Linked DNA regions of Homo sapiens: all the other regions are linked to region 2. Evidence: promoter capture Hi-C in 16 types of primary human blood cells and fetal thymus (Javierre and others, 2016). All regions are on one chromosome and are shown on one strand. The core of a region is centred on a gene start or on the middle of the fragment in contact, and the rest is flanking DNA. Distances in the headings are between cores, read along the strand shown.

Region 1 (2,840 bases), core at 190-2,689, 320 kb before region 2:
CCCAGGTAGATGCTGCCCACACAGCAGATTCACATCACAGCTGAGGACCCTCATCTTAGTGATCTGAATGTTTTGTAATGGGCAAGTAAACAAGCCTTCCTGAGCTTTGCTGCAGTGGGAGGCATTGTGTATTCATGATACTGGACAGTAAGCAAAGCTGTCCTGTGCTCCTGAGGAACAGTGCTGTCCGCTATACAAACAATTCTCCTGCCTCAGCCTCCTGAGTAGCTGGGATTACAGGCGCATACCACCATGCCTCGCAATTTTTGTATGTTTAGTAGAGATGGGTTTCACTGTGTTGTTGGCCAGGCTGGTCCCAAACTCTCGGCCTCCCAAAGTGCTGGGATTACAGGTGTGAAATCCTCGAAGATATAATCTGGAACAAAAATGCAGTCGGTGCCTCTGATAGATGTACAGAAACGTGAGACCCAGCTGGGCACGGTGGCTCAAACTTGTAATCCCAGCACTTTGGGAGGCCGAGGCGGGCAGATCATGAGGTCAGAAGATTGAGAACATCTTGGCTAACATGGTGAAACCCCATCTCTACTAAAAATACAAAAAATTAGACAGGCGTGGTGGCGGGTGCCTGTAGTCCCAGCTACTCGGGAGGCAGAGGCAGGAGAATTGGTGTGAACCCAGGAGGTGAAGTTTGCAGGGAGCCGAGATTGTGCTACTGCACTCCAGCCTGGGTGACAGAGCGAGACTCCATCTCAAAAAAAAAAAGAAATGTGAGACCCATGGAGAACGGTCTCGCACAGTAAGTTACCTAACAACCCATTAGAAATCTGGGCAAAGGACATAAACAGGACACAAGAAGAGAAATCCACAAATGACTAATAAGCATGTGAAAAATGTTTAACTTCATTCACAATTGAAGACATGCAAATTCAGGCCGGGCCTATGGCTCCCACCTGTAATTCCAGCACTTTGGGAGGCCGAGGCAGGTGGATCACCTGAGGCCGGGAGTTTGAGACCAGCCTGGTCAACATGGTGAAACCCCGTCTCTTCTAAAAATACAAAAATTAGCGGGGCGTGGTGGCGCATGCCTGTAATCACAGCTTTTCAGGAGGCTGAGGCAGAAGAATCGCTTGAATGAGGGAGGCGGAGGTTCTGGTGAGCCAAGATCACGCCACTGCACTCCAGACTGGGCAACACAGCAAGACTCCGTAAGACATGCAAATTCAAACATTAATAAAATACCATTTTTCATCTATCAGAAAAGCAGACATCAAAAAAGTTGCATCCAGTGCCTACTTCGAGGTCATGATAGAAGCAGCCACTCTTATTTGTGCTGATAAATACACTGGTTTTTTTTTTTCCTTTTTTCCCTCTCTATCATCTTGTAAATATACTGTTAAGAGAATAAAGCAAGGTACAGAAATATGTGAAGAGATTGTTCCCATTGTGTAAAACAAGGAGACGTGTGTGTACATGTATACACTTTAATAAGAATAGAATATTAGCCAGGCGCGGTGGCTCACGCCTGTAATCCCAGCACTTTGGGAGGCTGAGGTGGGTGAATCACCTGAGGTCAGGAGTTTGAGACCAGCCTGACCAATATGGTGAAACCCCATCTCTACTGAAAATACAAAAATTAGCCGGACGTGGTGGTGGGTGCCTGCAGTCCTAGCTACTCAGGCGGCTGAGACAGGAGAATTGCTTGAACCTGGGAAGCAGAGGTTGCAGTGAGCCAAGATTGCGCCATTGCGCTTCAGCCTGGGTGACAGAGCGAGACTGTCTCAAAAAAAAAAAAAAAAAAAAAAAAAAAAAGAATAGGATATTTCTGGATGGAGACACAAGGAATTGGTAACTCATGTCTGGGGAATGGAACTGGGAATCAGAGTGGAAGAACTCTTCATCATTTATCCTTCATGTTGTTTGAATTTTTAACCATGTGCACATATTACTTTTTCAAAAACTTTATTGAAATATTTAAAAATAAAAATTTCATGAAGTCACAAAAGCTGGAAACCAGTGAACCTTGAGTAAGACCACACATTACAGAGGGCATGATCCTCAGCATCCTACAAAGAGAAACTTTTTTTTTCAGGCAGGGAAGAATTTACTTTCAAATTAAGAATTTTTAGCTGGACACAATGGCTGACACTTGTAATCCCTGCACTTTCTGAGGCTAAGGTGGGAGGATCACTTGAGCCCAGGAGTTTGAAACCAGCCTGAGAAACATAGCGAGATCTCGTCTCTACTAAAAACAGAAATAAAAACATTAGTTGGGTGTGGTGCTCTGTGTCTGTAGTCCCAGCTACTTGGGAGACTGAGGCAGGAGGATAGCTTGAACCCAGAATTTCAAGGCTGCAGTGAGCTGTGATCTGGACTCCAGCCTGGGTCACAGAGTGAAACACTATCTCAAAAACAAGATAAAAACTAAGAGAATTTTCATACTTTGTTTACTTTTGTTTTGTTTGTTTGTTTTTGAGACAGGGTCTTGCTCTGTTGCCCAGGCTGAAGTGCAGTGGTGCAGTTAGCTCACTATAACCTCAAACTCCTGTGCTCAAGGGATCCTTCTGCCTAAGCCTCCTCAGTCGCTGGGACCACAGGCACATGCCACCGTGCCTGGCTAATTTTTGTATTTTTTGTAGAGATGGGGGTTTCACCATGTTGCCCAGTCTGGTCTCCAACTCCTGAGCTCAGGCAGTCCGGCCACCTCAGCCTTCCAAAGTGCTGTGATTGCAGTCAGGAACCACCGTACCCAGCTTTTATTGTTTTAATGGAAAAAACTGAGTTTTCTTTTAACTTTTTTATTTATTTGTTTGTTTTTACACAGAGTCTCACTCCATCACCCAGGCTGGAGTGCAGTGGCGCGATCTTGGCTCACTGTAGCC
Region 2 (2,700 bases), core at 57-2,556:
AGCTGGGATTGCAAGCCTGCACCAACATACCCAGCTAATTTTTTTTGTATTAGTAGAGACGGGTTTTATCACCTTGGCCAAGCTGGTCTTGAACTCCTGACCTCAAGTGATCCGCCCGCCTTGGACTCCTAAAGTGTTGGGATTACAGGCGTGAGCCACCGCACCCGGCCTCTTTTACTTCGCTTAAATGTCCAATTTTAGTAGTAAAATCCCGGAAAATGTTTTTAGGAGTATGTTTAACTGAAAAGCTCATATTTTCTTTCATTTTTGGGCAATTCTTAAGGTAAGCAAACTAATGTTGCATGATAAAGCCCCCATCAAGTATCTCATACTTAAGCAAAGACCTCAAATCATTGTGGCTTTATTGCAGCTTTCCTTCAAAATATCATCTGTGACTGAGGAAATCCCTATCTTCCTATCAGACTAATGAAACCACAGGACAGCAATTAGACTTTTAAGTATTGGGGGTTTAGAGCTCTAGATATTCGATATGCAGACTACTCATGTTTGTTTGTTTTAATAAAGACTGGTCCAAAGGCTCATTTTCACACAAGCTACAGTTTTTCAGTTCCAGGACCAGGTAAAGATGGTCAGCTCCGTGATCCATAAAATCCAAGGGTGACGACTCAGGATTAGGACCATTTCTTGGTGACATTGAGATGGTCGAGCTGGTCCGCAATGAATCTATGCGGGGGGAACTTGGAAGTGGCGGCCGCCTTTATGGCCTCGAAGGCCTCCCTCCTGCGCACCGCGGCGTGGCCGCGCTCCTGCTCCCGGGTCATGTAGGGCATGCTCAGCCAGTAATGGTTCTCCGCCTCGATCTCCAGGCGGCGGATCATGTTCTGCTTGGCGCGCAACGACACGAACCGCGGCCGCCGGTGCTTCCCGATCCACTGACGGCCGGGAATGCGGCCGCGCCAGAGGAGCGCAGTCAGGAACATGGTGCCTGCGGAAGAGAGGGACGGGCTTTGCGGAGGCGAACTGGCGCGGCCGGACCTGGAGAGAGCAGCGGGCGCGCGCTCCAGCTCACGCCTACGGGAGTTCCCGCACCGCCTCCCCTCCAGAGAAGCGGGGAGCCCAGGTAAGGCCAGCAGGCGAAGAAGGAGCTCCCTAGAGAACCGAATTCGCACAGCTACTCACCTGCCGCGCTGCTCAAGACTCTGCGTCTCCGCGGCCGCCAGCAGACGCCGTGGCGTAAGCGCACCCGTCTCGCGGGGTCTCCTGGGGCCTCGGCGAGAGACTTCGGCTCTCGCGAGAGAGGACTGCGCCTGCGCAGAGCCGAGGACGCGTCCGGCGCCGAGATTCAAACTAGTGGCGGGAGGCTGTGAGCTGAGCGGTGGGGTCTGCGTACGCCTGGAGTCCTTCCCCGCTGTGCTCAGCATGGACCCTATCCGGAGCTTCTGCGGGAAGCTGCGGTCTCTGGCCAGCACGCTGGACTGCGAGACGGCCCGGCTGCAGCGAGCGCTGGACGGAGAGGAAAGCGGTGCGTGAGGCGGGCGGCCAGGGCACGGTGCGTGGGGTGCGCCGCGGGCGGAGGGGCGTGGCGAGTGGACGGTATGTCCCACGGGAACCGCCAGGCACTGACGGCGTGGACGGCTGCCACCGAGGCGCAGGGCGGGTGCTGCGCGTCTCACTGCTCGGCGTTTGGCGTTAGCGTAGCTCCCGGGCCTGTTTATGGTTTATTCCTAGGAACCCTTGTCGCGTGTCCGTTTTAGACCCATGTACAACCCCACGGCTCTCTTGAGATAATGAAAGTAGCACTATTACGTTATAAACAGAGACAGCAGCACTTAAGAATAAGAACCTAAATTAACAGATTGAGCTCATAATACATATACTAATTTATACGTGATATGCTTTCGTCACATACAATATGTGTGCTTGTCAGTAAAATACCATGTAAACCTAAACAGTTTCTCTTAGAATCAAGCTATTTAACGTTCTTTACACAATACTTTACACATATAGTGACTTTTTTCTCACTCACGTGGTCCACAGTTGCAGTAAACCTCTGTGTTTTTCCCGCTAAACCATGTTGCCAACACAAACACTAGTACTCAACAGTGCTGGGGTTTAAAAAAATATGTGTATATAAATAAAGCAAAATTCACCATTCCCCTTTTTATTAGAGATTTTTTAAATTGTTGAAAAAGTAGTTCAGATTTTGGAATTATTTCATAAATGTCATAATTGTAATGTGCTTTAAAATATTACACCCTGCAGACTACTTTTACTTTAATTATATAATGAATGATCTCCAGTCACTTGAAAATGTCTATTTCTGCCCGGCGCGGTGGCTCACGCCTGTAATCCTAGCACTTTGGGAGGCTGAGGCGGGCGGATCACAAGGTCAGGAGATCGAGACCATTCTGGCTAACACGGTGAAACCCCGTCTCTACTAAAAATACAAAAAATTAGCCGGGCGTGGTGGCGGGCGCCGGTAGTCCCAGCTACTCGGGAGGCTGAGGTAGGAGAATGGCGTGAACCCGGGAGGCGGAACTTGCAGTGAGCCGAGATCCGCCACTGCACTCCAGCCTCGGCGACAGAGCAAGAGTCCGTCTCAAAAAGAAAAAAAGATTTGGCCGTGCACGGTGGCACACGCCTGTAATCCCAGCATTTTGGGAGGCCGAGGTGGGTGGATCGCCCGAGGTCAGGAGTTCAAGACCAGCCTGGCCAACGTGGTGAAACCTCGTCTCTACT
Region 3 (2,825 bases), core at 246-2,745, 280 kb before region 2:
ATGTTCTTCCATGTCCATCCGAATTCTATGTTGAGGTCTAACCCTCCTAAGCAGCCTCTCTGGAAAACTAGTTGAACTTGAACCTAAACCTACTGTCAACTAGGCCACTAACTAATATGACTTTTAAGGCACAAAATCAGGGAGAACAGAATCTTTTATACATGCTTTATTACTCAAGCAGCAGTGTGCAGTGATTAAATACTTACTCGCTTTTACTACATTTCTCTGACACAGCAAAGGGTGACGTCTTCTTCATGGAGACTTTAGTGAGCAGTAGCTAATTTAAAGCTCAGTGTAGGCCGGTCGTGGTGGCTCACACCTGTAATCTCAGCACTTCTTTGGGAGGTGGAGGCGGAGAGGGGTTGGGATTCCTTGAGCCTTGGAGTTCAGGGCCAGCATGGCAACAGGGCGAAACCTAGTTTTTACAGAAAATACAAACATCAGCTGGGCATGGTGGCGGGCCTGTAGTCCCTGCTACTCTGCAGGCTGAAGCAGGAGGAGTGCTTTAGCAGGGAGGTCGAGGCTTAAATGAGCCCAGGTCGTGCCACTGCACTCCAGCTTGGGCGACAGAGCGAGAAGACCCTGTTTCAAAAAACAAACACAAAAATTCATTCTAACCAAAACTGAATGCTAGTAGCAGGAACTGGTATGAAGATTGCGGTCTGGAATCCCTTCTAATGCGTCTGACCTTGCATTGTGAAGTCTTCACAGTGATGCTTCTGGGTTCTATATGATTATCGTCATTGCTTAGCAACCTCTAGTTGTAAATAAATTCTTTAAATTTCCTTAGTCGTTTGCGGGGCAAGGAGAGGGTCATTTACATGCCCTTTCCTTCTCGCTACTCAATCTTAAATTTGGGTTACGAATCAAACTGATGGACCCTACATGGCTTCTACCCGAAATTACAGGTATCTACCGTTCCATCTTCAAGAAAGGGAGGGGTTCCGCCAAGATGGACGAACATAAAAATCACAGGAGGAGCCTTCTAACAATGTGCATTCTTCGCACACTGAGTGGGGAATGGCCTTGTCATGTTTGAAACAGTGCCCCAACTACTCAATGTCCCAGGAACCCCAGTGGAGCGAGTTCTGTACACAGAGAGGGCCAAGATCCACAAATCAGCTAAGGAATCATTTCCATAGTCTCCCTCCCCTATTGAGTCTCGATCCACAAAAGCTATCCCCTGTCCCTCTCATCCATCAAGGGCGTGTTTTTCGCCTCTCCTTCCCCGGCCTCCCGCGTCCGCCCAGCCTGTCCGCATCCAGCCCCGCCACGCCCCATGGGCGGTCCCGAGCTGCGGCCCCGCCCCCTCACCGCCTCCCCGGCCGCGGAAACCCCGCCCCAACGACGCGGAGACCGGGGGCGGCCCGCGGCCCGCGGCGGGCGGGCTGGCGGGGACGGACGCGGGGGGAGGGGGGCGACGGGATGTGGGGTGGGGGCGGGGCCTGGCTGGGCGCCGGGACGGGAGGAGTCCCGGCGGCGCCTCGGACTTTTGCTCCCACAAGTCCTGCCTCGGAGGCGGGGGAGCTGGACCAGCAGCCGCCTGGAGCGTCCGAGTCACCGTCGCCGGGGCTCCCGCGCTCCCCAGAACGGTGGGACGCGGGGCTCGGCAGCCGCCAGCGGAACATGGCGCCCTGGACGCTGTGGCGCTGCTGCCAGCGCGTCGTGGGCTGGGTGCCGGTGCTCTTCATCACCTTCGTGGTCGTCTGGTCCTACTACGCGTACGTGGTGGAGCTCTGCGTGTGTGAGTACCGTCCCCGGGGACTGCGGCGGGGCGCGGGCCGCGGCTAGGGCGCGAGATAGGCCTCTGCGCCCCACACCCGCCGCCTTTCTGGAGCCAGCGCCGGACGCCGGGCGTCCGGCCCCGAACGCGCTCGGAAGCGCCGAGGTTGCTGCACCCGCCGCTTTGTTCAATCCTGCGGCGCGGCCTTGGGGCGACCTGGGGCTCCTGAAGCCTTGCGGCGGCTTCCCGGGTGCAGGTCTGGCCCAGGGAGGCCCCAAGAGCTTCCTGGTTCCCGCCGACACCGGGGGTCTGCATCCTTCTGGGAAGGAACGTGCAGAACGGGAGTAGTCGAGCTTCTTAGAAGGTTTAGGTTGTGTTTGTGGCTTTTTTGGCTTTTGTTCATTTTTTTTAAAAAACCAAATCTGTTCCTTCTGGATTGTTTTTGTTCAAACTGCGCGAGAAGAAACGCCTGTTACCTGTAGAGCCGGCTGTGGCGGGTTGGGGGAAGGGAGGTGTGTCTTTTGGTGGCCTCGGGCTGGAGGCGGGTCAGACCTGGAGGACGAGTAAGCTCCCACTTTTGATTTTTGGTGGTACTCGACTCATTGTAAAATTCGTTTATTTCTACTCTGAATCCAGCCGGCTTTTGCAGAAGGTTAAGACAGAAAGAATGGGTGGGAGGAGACATAACCTGATTATTTTTTTCTTGGCTGATTATTAAGGAGGCTTATATTTCTTATACTCATATTTTGGCGTGTTAATTTTCGTTACTTCCATTTTCCTGATAAGTTCTTAGCACAAAATTCTCATCTGATTCCCTGGAAAAAAGGAGTAGCATTGCAGTATACTTCAAGGATTTAACCTACTGGCTTGAATTGGTTGCCTTTAAGATTGAAGGAAATTGGTTGTCATTAATCAAAAACACTGTTTAGGGGTGACTGCTACATTTGTGATATTGGGCAATTTCTCCAACATTGTTTTGTCTTAAGTAAATTGTTCTTAGGCTTTGAGTATGTGGGTATTTTACACTTAAACTGGCCTCAACTAGGGTGTTCTGTATACATCTGCTGCCTATATCAATTTTTTATGAAAACCTAGGACCAAA

Evidence for each region. The method cuts DNA at HindIII sites, captures the fragments that hold promoters and counts their contacts. A CHiCAGO score of 5 or more calls a contact.
Region 1: a contact is called between a fragment that was not itself captured here and the fragment with the promoter of SKA3 in region 2, in 4 of 17 cell types (fetal thymus, total B cells, M2 macrophages and 1 more). The highest score is 7.1, in fetal thymus.
Region 3: the fragment with the promoter of ZDHHC20 here is called in contact with the fragment with the promoter of SKA3 in region 2 in 15 of 17 cell types (total B cells, total CD4 T cells, fetal thymus and 12 more); the score reaches 18.5 in total B cells.

What each region holds. Positions count from the first base shown.
Region 1 is chr13:21,497,300-21,500,139 of GRCh38, reverse strand. All of the region lies in intron 9 of MICU2 (mitochondrial calcium uptake 2), which reads left to right. Among named protein-coding and RNA genes, the nearest start is that of ZDHHC20, 39 kb to the right of the region's middle. The HindIII fragment of the contact is 9,764 bases long and covers 1-2,840 here.
Region 2 is chr13:21,175,158-21,177,857 of GRCh38, reverse strand. SKA3 (spindle and kinetochore associated complex subunit 3) reads left to right here and starts at 1,306. Exons shown (of 9, transcript NM_145061.6): 1 at 1,306-1,483. The coding sequence starts at 1,381. It overlaps MRPL57 (mitochondrial ribosomal protein L57), which reads right to left and starts at 1,200. Exons shown (of 2, transcript NM_024026.5): 1 at 1,141-1,200; 2 at 1-946. The coding sequence starts at 941. The coding sequence ends at 633. RefSeq lists enhancers at 731-1,050, 1,066-1,788, 2,511-2,700. The HindIII fragment of the contact is 19,534 bases long and covers 1-2,700 here.
Region 3 is chr13:21,457,973-21,460,797 of GRCh38, reverse strand. ZDHHC20 (zDHHC palmitoyltransferase 20) reads left to right here and starts at 1,495. Exons shown (of 13, transcript NM_001330059.2): 1 at 1,495-1,744. The coding sequence starts at 1,627. LOC124903131 (a long non-coding RNA gene) reads right to left here and starts at 1,251. Exons shown (of 2, transcript XR_007063713.1): 1 at 619-1,251; 2 at 152-415. RefSeq lists a cis regulatory region at 1,254, an enhancer at 1,170-1,339 and a silencer at 1,203-1,582. The HindIII fragment of the contact is 7,258 bases long and covers 1-2,825 here.